2 separate regions of the Homo sapiens genome follow, and region 2 is linked to region 1. Evidence: promoter capture Hi-C in human tissues and cell types (Jung and others, 2019). All regions are on one chromosome and are shown on one strand. Each heading gives the region's core, a stretch centred on a gene start or on the middle of the fragment in contact. The rest is flanking DNA. Distances are from core to core; before and after follow the strand shown.

Evidence for each region. The method cuts DNA at HindIII sites, captures the fragments that hold promoters and counts their contacts. A contact is called where the count stands out against the background at its distance.
Region 2: a fragment that was not itself captured here is called in contact with the fragment with the promoter of FERD3L in region 1 in 1 of the 25 tissues and cell types used here (dorsolateral prefrontal cortex).

Annotation. Positions count from the first base shown.
Region 1 is chr7:19,143,830-19,149,662 of GRCh38, reverse strand. FERD3L (Fer3 like bHLH transcription factor) reads left to right here and starts at 4,242. Exons shown (of 1, transcript NM_152898.2): 1 at 4,242-4,881. The coding sequence starts at 4,301. The coding sequence ends at 4,801. RefSeq lists enhancers at 3,196-3,844, 4,310-5,509. The HindIII fragment of the contact is 11,409 bases long and covers 1-5,833 here.
Region 2 is chr7:20,507,822-20,513,974 of GRCh38, reverse strand. No RefSeq gene overlaps it. Among named protein-coding and RNA genes, the nearest start is that of ABCB5, 100 kb to the left of the region's middle. The HindIII fragment of the contact is 3,595 bases long and covers 2,298-5,892 here.

The DNA of each region.
Region 1 (5,833 bases), core at 2,993-5,492:
AATTGCATAAATAAAATATTGACTGAAAGACACAATAGTATACAGAATATAATTTATTTTTATAGATTATGCATATGCTCACTTTGTGAAACAGTCTCAAGCTATAAACTTAACTGTTCTTACATTACCTCAAACTTCAAAAAGGCATTCCATTTCTTGATTTGGGCACTGGTTTCATGGATACATTCACTTTGAAAATTCATGAAGCTGCATGTATATAATTTGCGAATTTTAAAGTACATACACTGAGCTTCAAAAAAGTTTACCTAAAATATGAAATGAAAAAAGCAAAATAAATGGATATATATTCTTCTATCTCTAAAACCAGCCGTGGTCACAACCATACATAATTTGAAATTGAATAGGAAGAAGACACTGGTCCCTTCTCCAGGTCAGCGGAAGGAGTACTTCTTATGCCTTTCTCCTACAATCATCACAGACATCTAGCTTCGTCATATCTTTATCATTTGCCCTAAAAGTTAATGTTTCTGGAATAAAAGAGGAAGGGACATGAGGAAGGAAAGGTAGGGTTTTTTTAATTGGGGGGATTTATATATTTGCTTTACTCCCTGGATGCTTTATTTATCTACCTTTCTCCCCTTTGCACCATTAAACCCAGGCTTCAGCTCATTCAAGAATTACTGCTTAAGTTATTCTTGGTCATTTTTTTTTCTTTTTGCTTTGATTCTGAACAGTTTAATAGTATAAACAAAATGTTTTATGTCTAATAGGAATGGTCAATAGAAATAAACTAGATAATCAAATAAGCAAAACTGATTGTCATTTCATAATCATTTCTTGAAATATTTTGAGTAAAATTTGTGAGGAGTTATCAAACTTTTTATAAATGCCTCCCTATAGGTCACTGAATAACTGTAAACTATAGGCCTAGAACACAGAGGAATCAAGGTTGAACTTAGCTTCTTTTAATCCTCAATTGAGTTTTTAAAAAACATCTCTCTCTTAACTTTCAAATCTAGAAATGAAAATAATGATTCCTTCCAATAGGATGAACTGTAACATCACTTGGTACTTTATAAATTTACTGCTTTTGCCATATATATTTACTGTGGAACCAAATACCCACAAAAGTCTTCTAAAAATAAAATGACCATTTCACAATAAGCAGAGAAAAAGAATTTCAGTTATTCCTATAATTAATTATAATTATAAATGAAATAACTGTAACTGTTAATTTATATAACTAATTATAATTATAAATAAAAACACTCATAACTTAGATTTTAACATTTTTTGCTTTAATTATATTAGCATGATTATAACCTTGTAAGATAAACAGAAATTAAGGTGGTATAAACAGAAGTGTTTATCCTGGGATTTTTATGATGAAATAAAAAAGAAAATATTTTAAAATAATTGCTGTAGGTGTACCTATTAGGACATTTAAAAAATTCCTAATACTTTAATACAAGTATTTCAACCCAGTTCTAGGCACTGGTTCCATTACTTTTGCTACAGTTCCTTTTGTGATATGATTATTGAAATCTCCATTCTCTGCCAGCTGCAGTGGCTCAGGCCAGTAATCTCAGCACTTTGGGAGGTCAAGGTGAGAGGACTGGTTGAGGCCTGAGCAAAATAGTTAGACCTCCTCTCTAAAGAACAAAACCTTTAGCTTGATGAGGTGGCCAGTGCCTGCAGTCCTAGGTACTCGGGAGGCTGAGGCAGGAGAGTTGCTTGGGCCCAGGAGTTTGAGGCACAGTAAGCTATGATTGTAGCACTGCGCTCCAGCCTCGATGACTGAGTGAGGCTCTGTTGAAAGAGAGAAGGAGGAAAGAAAAAGAAAGAAAGAAAGAAAGAGAGAAAGAAGAAAGAAAGAAAGAAAGAGAAAGAAAGAAGAAAGAAAGAAAAAGAAAGAAAGAAAGAAAGAAAGAAAGAAAGAAAGAAAGAAAGAAAGAAAGAAAGAAAGAAAGAAAGAAAAAGGAGTAAGGGGGAGGGAGGGAGAGAGGAAGGAAGGAAAGAAAGAAGGAAGGAAGGAAGGAAGGAAGGCAAGCAAGAAAGGTACATTGCCTTGGCTAAAATCATAAAGGAGTTCAGTCCAATGAAACTATCTCTTTAGTCTCATGAAGGCTTCTGACCCCCATTTTATGAAATTTTAAATTTAAATATCAACCATGTTTTCCTTCATTGTTTTCCAGTGTATTATATTGCGAAACTAGATTCTCAATTGACTGAGGTGTTTAATCCACTTGCAAATAGATTGTAAATGAATACAAAATAAGTCACTGAGAAGCATTTAACATAATTTAAAAATCAACAAGAAATTTGTCCAAATATTTAATAACATATTAATTTAAACGAGGGTTAGCAAGCATGTTACTACTTTTTTGAAACAAAAATCAGTTCTCCCATTTACTAGCTTCATAGCCACTGTTGACAATCCTATTATTTATTTTTCAGCCTTCCCTTTGAAAGATGCTTAGCAAAAATCAACTAAGTAACAACCAAAGATCTCATTCTCTTTAACATCTTCCAGGATCACAAATTTCAATTATTCTCTGCCTGAGTTATCACAATTCAAACTGGAGAATGAAGAGTAAACACAAGCAAAAGAAGATAAAATCTATTAAAAGATCGAGAGACACCAGACACAAATGGGTTAAAAGAAGAAGAAGAATTAAAGGTTATACTGTTTTGATTACACACATAGAGGCTAGGAAGAAGAAAATGAATTGAGATTACCTGTTAGAAATAGGCGGTTTCTGGTTTCTGGGAGCTGTCCAATGTACTGAGTGAACCATCATAACCACAACTTACCCCCTTAATAGGGACTGACGTCCTGGGCAGTTCTCTTTTGAACCGGGATGTTTCTACATTCATCTTTTTAGGCTATTTCTTCCAATCTACCTTTAAAATTATCTTCTAATCTGTCACTTTGACACAATGGGTCTTTTAAATAAATCTTTACACAGTACTGAATAATTAAGTAAATATAGTTATTGGCAAACAAAGAAAAAGAACCTTTTTGTTAAAATATTTGGGATACTCGAGATAATATAAAATGAGTAATCTCTTATTTTTCTTATGCCAAATTTAAAATCTCTTTCTTTTCTCAAAAATAACGATCTAACGATAGCCAAAAACTCCCTTAAATATATTTCAATAAATCATTGTTTCTGCACTTAAGTCTTACTGTAGGACAATACAAATCAATGAGGAAAATACGCCAGATGGAAGTGTTAGGTTTTTTTCTTTGTTCGGGAACAAATACTCGATCCGCAATTTAAAAGTCCGAAGACTCCTCAGCAGAGGGTGAGCTGATTGACTCTTTGGCTTATCAAGGGCAAATCGCATTTCTGAAAAGAGCTTGAAGTGGTTTTGTTTGTGAGGAGAGTTTGCTTTGTCCCCCACACTGAAAAGTATACAGCAAAGCCCGAGCATAGAAAATATCCTGAGCTTAAATTTCTCATTTTATTGCCATCATAACTTTTCCTCTTGGAATAAAATCCTCTATTTTATATGAGTAGGAGGTAAAGGTAGGGAAAGGAAAGTCAAGTATCTCAATTGTTACGCTGATTGCATCCAAACAGACTTTAGAAGTCAGGGTTTGTAACGTGGCAGGAGAGCTGTTTGCGATGCCCTGGAAAGAAAAGAAAGCCGGTTCCAACAGCGACTCTGGGGAATGCACTCTCGGTCCCCCTGCCATGCTTACTTAAGCTAATTGAAGGTCTTGCCTTTCAGCAGCCGCTGCACTGGGATACCAGACAAACAGCTCCCCTTGATGCCAGGCAGGCAGGGCCCCTCTTCAGGACATCATTAAAAGCACATGCACTTGCTCCACATCCATTGGCAGATGGTGGCAAGATTCAAGACTCCTACCCTGAAGTCAAGGAGAAGCCATCGCGGTGGAAAACATCCTCGCTTTGAAAATCCAACACGAAATTAAAGAACTACACGAGATAAGGAGCCTGGAGAACATTAGTTGGCTGCAGGGGTGAAGACAGACACAAAAAGCACAGCAGGTAAGAGCTGGGGGTTGTTGCCAACAAGGAACTGTCCCGGGTGGCGCAGAGAAAAGGATCTCAGAACTGGAGCCCTGTCCCTTTGAGTCTTCCATGCGTGCTCAAGCTTGTCATCTTCCATAAGCTTCGAGAGAAGGGACGTTGTCAGAGCATTCCTTATCGGTGCGACTAATCCTGTTATCAGCTTGGTTATAAATATTTAATGTTCCCTGGCCTTTCGGTGATGGTGCCCCATCAGATTCAAGGCTGTTAAGAATCCCCACCAGCAACCTCGCCCCTCCCTGCGGAAAACCGATGAGAGGCAGGGCCAAGCCGAAGCGATGGCGGCCTATCCGGAGAGCTGCGTGGACACTACGGTGCTGGACTTCGTCGCAGACCTGTCCCTGGCCTCCCCGAGACGCCCTCTCCTCTGCGACTTCGCACCCGGGGTCTCCTTGGGGGACCCAGCCCTTGCGCTCCGAGAGGGAAGACCCAGGAGGATGGCGCGGTTTGAAGAGGGGGACCCAGAAGAAGAGGAGTGCGAAGTGGACCAGGGGGACGGAGAAGAGGAGGAGGAAGAGGAGCGCGGAAGAGGTGTCTCCCTATTAGGCCGCCCCAAGAGGAAAAGGGTGATCACCTACGCCCAGCGCCAGGCCGCCAACATCCGCGAAAGGAAGCGGATGTTCAACCTCAACGAGGCCTTTGACCAGCTGCGGAGGAAGGTGCCCACGTTTGCTTACGAGAAAAGGCTGTCCCGGATCGAGACCCTCCGCCTGGCCATCGTCTATATCTCCTTCATGACCGAGCTCTTGGAGAGCTGTGAGAAGAAGGAAAGCGGCTGAGCCTGGTGTGGAGAGTCTGCCCTTCCTCGTCTGGTAGTGCTGGGGTGTGTCAGGACCGGGCACTGGGTGAGGCTAAAGGGCCGGGAGGGAGGCCCCAAGACAGAACGTCTGGTCTTCTGGAGGTCGGGGTCGAGATTGTAAGATCCCCACATGCGCTGAGCAGAGTGGCTGCTGTAGAGTTCATATCTACGCGACCGCCCTAAGTGAAGTCGGGGTCAGGGGCGAGCGGGGAAGTCAGAGAGCGTGAGGCTGAGTCGGGGCCGTTCAGGCTGCTCCTAAGAGCTTCCGTGGGCTGGGTGGGTGGGAAGTGAACCCTCCTCGCAAATGGCAGACTTTGGAGCTTCTATAAAATCTAACCTCTCTTCTTTACATTTTTTTTTTCATAGAGATAATAAAGTAGAAATTCTTACGTTTTTAAAAAGCCTGAAGGGTCGGTGGTACGCCATCCCCAGCAGGCGCTCCAGCGGGCGCCTGCGTGGAGGGTCTGAAGCAGACGCCGCAAGGGTGCGGGGGTGCGAGCTTTTCTGCTAGCCAGAGGGTTCTGCCTGGTCCTCCGAGGCTTGTCCAGGAACTGAGGAAAGGAAAAATGGAAGGCAGAGCAGTCGAGAGGAACTGCTGACAAAGTGCGACCTCTGAGAAGGGACACCCTTCCTGTCTTCCATTCCCTCTCCCTCCCGTCCCTTCCTCTCTCCCGCGCGCAAGCCCTCTCTCTTCCTTTCTCCCTCCCCTTCGCCACCTAGTTGATCCCAGACGGACCACAGCTCCTTGTCCCAGGGCCACAGTGGTGTTCATTCAGTGCCTTAGCCAGAGTGCAAATCTACGCTTTGCATCTAAAGTGCAGCATCAGCTTCCGTGTTCCAGTGCCTTCTTCAGGCCCCAGGCCAGAGTAAGGGGCGAGTGCACTCGGGTCACTCCTGGGCCGCAGGGGGCCTTGGGCGCCCTGCAGCTTCGCCACCAGCCACCGCTACCAACTGTCCCCGGCCAGGGGTTGGGGTATGAAGGGGCCTGGATCTTTCTAGGAGCAGGGCCGCC
Region 2 (6,153 bases), core at 2,846-5,345, 1.4 Mb before region 1:
TTTAAAATGTTCAAAAGTAAAAAGAATAACCTTATATTATCAAAACATAATACATTAATTAAAATTATGTAGTATCAAATATACCATCAAACAAAAGTTTTTAATATTTATCTGGTATAAATATATTAAAACAGACTTAAATTTATAACAAAAATAAATATAGTTAAACATAGAAGAAATAATAAATGCATTGTATTAGCTTTAAAGAAATATAATGTGTTTGTGTAAATGTTTTCAAAAATCGTGCCCATATTTTTTAACAAACAATTTTAACTTAAATCAATAGTGTACTTTCCTTGCTCCTAGTGGTTTTGGATGTGGTTCTTGAGTATAGTCTTCTCTAATATGGCAGATAAATCAATCTGACCTTCTTTTCAACATTCACAGTTGAATGAGGAGAGTATAATTTTTCCAGTCTGCAGCTGACTTCTTTATTCATTTGTTAAGATTATGGTTAGTCTTTGTAGTGGATTCTGTGGCTTGGTTCCCTTAAACATGTATTCCAACCTCTTTCTTCTGGGACGTCTAGTACTGTAATGCTTGGAGATTAAAAAGAAAAAGTAAAGCATTTCTCAGATGTCCTTGTGGCTAAGATTTCAGTTGTGATTTGGGGTCCTCCAATCTGGTACTTTGATGGTCAACTTGAATTTTGAACTAAGTTAATTAGGATAGAGACCATAATTCTGCTCTTCAGGTGGTGACACAGGCAGCATAGACCTGAGCCACCAATTTCCTGATTTTCAGCAACTTTCTTCATTGGTAGGTGCAATGTCCCTGGGTGTAGCAGCAGTGAGACAATTTCTGGGGCTGGACACTTCTTGGATATTCTGCCTGAAGCTTAATCTGCCTTACTTTTCAGATCACCAGACAGTTTTTAAGCCACAGGAATAGCTAGTGATACGTTCTATTCTGTATTACAGGTTTCTCTCGTCTTAAATGAAACTCGAATCAATAAAGAGCCTACCTCAATTATAAATTATTCAAGGGCATTTTGATTACCCATTCCTGATGAAGGAACCCATAGATTTTCCATAATCTTTTGATTTGTCATTTAATCCATGATTTAAGTGAACATTAATAGCAAATAAAACAGCTTTTTGAATAGATTTTTAGAGAGAGAAATATTGAGAATACAAGCGGAAATGTGTTTTATCTTCTGATACTCTTTTTATAGAGAATGATAACTTTAGTGATATAATCAAGGTAAATATACACATTAATATAATCGTACATCTGTATGTACTATTTGAGTAGTTAGTGATACCAAAATTCAAAAGTAATACATTTGAGAAAGGTATGATAGTGAATTTACATTACTCTCTCATTGCCTTCATCTGTCTGGTATATAATTTATGATAATGTTCAGGCACCAATTCCTTAATAATACCTTCTCTTCCTCTCCCATGCATGATTCTGTAACCACTAAAAATATACACATGCACACACACACAAATAAACACACACACACACTGTTTCTATTTACCACTTCTGTACTAGTTATATTAGTACTTTGGTCAAAATATGTGACAATTGTTTAGTCTATTTTCTATTCTTGATTATGAGGTTGATGAGAGTGGTAACAAGTGTGTTTTTATTAACCTTTGAGTTGGTAGTATCTGGAATACTTGAAATGCTTTAAAATGCATTGGTTGACTGAACAAATGAGAAGTAGGAGAAAGGAGAATGAGAAGACAGTATATATAGTGAAATATACAGACTACTGGAGGAGAGGTCTGGACACCCATCACTGCAGTTATCTGCAAATCTACCTACTACAAAGCAAACTTCCCTTTCTGTCAGTGACTTAAAACAACAATTGATTATTTTTCAGAATTCTGTGGGTTGACAGGCCATTCTGTTTCCTGTATTGTTGGTTAGGTCTCTGGGGGAGCCGGAAGATCCACAATGGCTTCACTCACATGATTGAGAATTGGCGCTGGCTTTTATCTGAGTAAGAGATAATGGTAGACATTGAAGTTCTCTTAAGGCTCTGCCTTGGAGTTACACAATCTCAATTCCATTGCACTTTATCGGTCAAACATTGCCTTCTGGTCAGCCCAGATTCAAGGGGAAGGCAAAAAAGTATCACTTCTTGAAGGTCTAATAGTAAAGTAACATTGCAAAAGAGTGATGGAAGATACTGTTCTGGCCGTCTTTGAAAACATTCCCTTCTATACATACCCCTACATTTTTTTCTGTCTCTCTTAAGATATGAAACAATCTTCCCAGGTCTGTAGATCTGTTTCCTCATCTTGACTTAGTATATTCAATTTTAGCTGTAGGATTATATGATATAGCAATGTTTCTGTTCAAAAGGTTAATATTGAAATTTGAGCCAGTTTTGATTGTGTCTTATTTCAACTAGAAATTTATCAGACTTTTCTTCTCGGGGCTTCTGTGAGCTTCAAGTTGCATTGTAGACTACTCAAAGTGTCGTCATCAGACCACCAGTATTAATATATCATGGGAGCTTTTTTTTCCTTTTTTTTTTTTTTTTTTTAACAAATACAAATTAACGGGCTTCACTCCAAAACTACTGAATCAGAATCTGTGGCTATAATGTTCAGGAATCTGGATTTCAACCTCCTCTCTAAAAACTTCTGACATCTGTTAAAGATTGAGAAGCACTGGTATAGAATACATTAGAGGAAGTAAAACAGTAAGCAGCAATGTACAGCAATGCAAACCTGCCTACTGGCCAAAAGTCGAGGATGGTAATACAATTAAATATTCCAAATTCTCATCTTGGCCAATCACACTGGAATTCCATCATTACATATGCATTCATTGTATTTAAATCTGAGAATCCAGTGTTAAAAAACAACCCCATAAGGAGAAAAAACACAGTAGGCCATTAAAATTACAGCAGAGATGAGTTTAGTTTATTGTCTTTCTTCAAACCACTTAGCAAACCCGAAGAAACTGAATACCACACAATAAAATCTTGTTTTGAATAAAAAGCCTGCCATGAAGGAAAGATTGATCCATGTTATTTCCAGTATCCCTGAGAAAGAAGAAAGACCCATAATGGGGGTCTCTTGGAATGAGAAAAGAAGGTACTGGGTCATCATGGAAGCCCGAGAGGGGCTGACTGGGGTAAAATATCAAATAGGTAAAGAGATGAACAAAGCAAAAGTGGAGACACACCAAAGATAGAAGCTGCTCTGTCTTCACGTGGCTCTGGGCCAGACATAATACTTGTTACCATGACGATAGATTACAAAGTTGCACATGAACAATAGAAAAGATGAAGAGAGGAAGAGATGAGAGAGGAAAAGAAAGAGAGTGTGAAGGATGGAATATGAGAAGGATGTTTAGAGCTGATTGCAATAGGTCAGAGATGAGAAGACAAAAGCAAATTGTCCTTCAAGAAACAGGACCTTCTGTCTCTAGCACTCTCTTGCAATGGTCTAAAAATAATGTGGAGGCAGGAAAAAGAGAGACTGAAAACTGAAAAATATGCATACTTCTTTCTTGAGGTATCGGTTACTATTCCACCTTACTCTCAGCTGCAAGGAAAGCTGGGAAACATCCCTTGGGAGCTGTGTGCCCACAAAGAAAAAGAAAGGTAATTGAATTAATATGCAGCTGTCCCTACCACACAGATGCAAATAACATATGGTTAAAAATGAATTTTCTCAAGTCTACTCTCTGAGAGCAAAGACGAACAAATTTAGTAAAACTGTAGTTTATAAAAGATTGTGAATTTATCTTTAGTCACTTTGATATAAAATACATGCATTGGCTTTCTTAGAAGCTTGCTCAATTTCGGCTTTAGTAGTTTGCTTTTCCAAGTGGAATGTTAACTGTTATTGACATGTAGGTTCATGGCTTATAAGATGTTATTTTTCCTATCATAGCAATCTAGGTAATCTTAAAAAGAGAATGCTGATGGAAGCAAAAATTATTTAACAAAATATAATTTAAATTTGGATATAATTAAAGTTTTGAAACATGATTCTAGAAGACTGGGGAAGATTACACAGCACTTCTATGCAGATAGCTAACATATTACTGAATCTTTAAGAGAATGGTGAGATCGTTAATTCAAGTGCCACCTCAGATAATTATTAGTTAATTTAACCTGGTACTCAGTACTCTGGGACTTAGTTTTTATATCTGTGAGATACAGAAGGAGTTGAGAATTTGGAATAATTAATCCCTAGAGTCCTTTCTAACTCTAAAGGTGTAAAAGGCATAGCAAGAATAAAAGAAGGCATTAAATGTCTCATGCTCTGCCGTTTAGTAGAAACTTCCTTTCTCTTAGGTAGGACTAAATCAAAACCATTTCAAATACATTGGTATCTGTAGGCTTTCCTTTGTGAGAAAGGAAATAGAGGTGTTGGAAGCATTATGAGATAACCCCTTTATGCCTAGTGTTCCATTATTGGAATGCTAAGCTTGTGGGAATTATTTATATCCTACTGCTCAAGGTCATCATCAAGGTCTGATTTCTCACACACACACAAAAATTTGCAACCTCCAGCATAAATGGGTTAATATGCTTATCTGTAAAGCTCTTAGCATAGTCCCTGATACAAAAAGAGCTCAATAAGTTAGCTAAGTTTAGCCATTTGAAAATCATTTCGGAACACTTCACAGCCCTCAAAATTCAAAACATTGTTTCTTATTATGTTATTTCCTGAAAATCCCTCCAGATCACTTACCATTTGGACTACAACTTTATATATAAATATGTACCAAAGAGATAGGTTACCAGAAAAGGAAGAGAGACATATGTTTAGGAAGGGAGTAAAGGATAAGCAAGGTTTTCCCATTACCCTCCTTGTGGCTTACCCTTGTCTCCCTTCCTTCTTTCTCTTCTTTTCTGCAAATCCATGGCTGTTAATTAAACCAAGGTAGTCTGCTTTCAGAGTCCAGATTCCTAACCATTCTTCTTTGATGACTCTTTTTAGTATCTTCCAGAGTGCCTTGCACATAGGTACTCTGCAAATATTGCCTGATGCTAAAATGCTATTTTTAAGTTTTTGGGGGGCCTGGTTTTAAAACTTTTTGCAGGATTCAAGATATAGAAAGTTTGCAGATATGGACCAGAAGAAAGGCTTAAGATGTTTCCAGTCATCCTTATCAGTATCGTAAGCAATTTTGGAACATGTGCATTTTCTGATTCCTTGAAACCAGTATTTGTTTCTTTTGATTACTGAACAGAGCAATTGTTGAATCTTCTCTCTTATTCACCTCTATAGCCCATCTTGACTATGGCCCTCTATGACCAAATCTTGACTTTTCCTTCCCAAGTAGATGGTCCAGTTCTCTCCATCTCCTGGCATTACTCTCGCTCACTCCAATCCAATCCATTTTCCTCACAACAGCCAGAGTGATCAACTGAAAAGTACAAATAGATTTTGGCTGTACTGTGAAGGGTCAGTCATGATCCCAGCAGGAAACAGACTTCAGCTCAAAAAGTTCAAATATAGAGATTATAATAAAAGAATCACTTTACAGTGTGGTTGCAGTTAAGAGGACCAATAGGAGACACTGAGGAACATAAAGACAGAAGTGAAAGTTATTTGCTACTACCCTCAGGGGGAAGGGGGAAGGGAGAAGGGGAAGAAGTTTTATTACTAGAGATCTTTGAGAGCTATCCCAAGGAGGACGGAGCACACAGCAGGAGTGGTAATTGTGGAGAGACAAATCACCACTAGCGATACTGCCATGAAACAGGGAGGAAGTGGAGCGGAAGTACCTTGAGTTTTTGAGTTTCATCTCTCCTCCAGTCTCTGATGCGTCAGTGCCTCCTGTTGGAACCTAACTGGAAACAGAACAAGGAAATTGGGTAATTCACTGCAGGGGTCATCATGAATAACAGAGCTGAGCAGACAACATGAAGAATAACCAGTACATCTTCAAGATCAAATCCTCGATCTGACCTGCAGGACCCTGCAGGATTTGACACTTTCCTCCCTAATCCAACCTATCCTTTGTTCCTCTGTTCCATTTCACTGAGCTTCAACCACATTTGGATTTTTCATTTTCTGGAAGGTATTGTGCTTGCTCCCAGCTCAGTGCTTTCACACAAGCTATTCTCTCTCTCTGATAAGTTCTTGTCCAGTTTTTGCCTCAATAAATTTTAAAGATTCCTTAGAATTCAGCTCAAAAGACATTTCCTCAAGGAAGTCTTACCTGACTCCT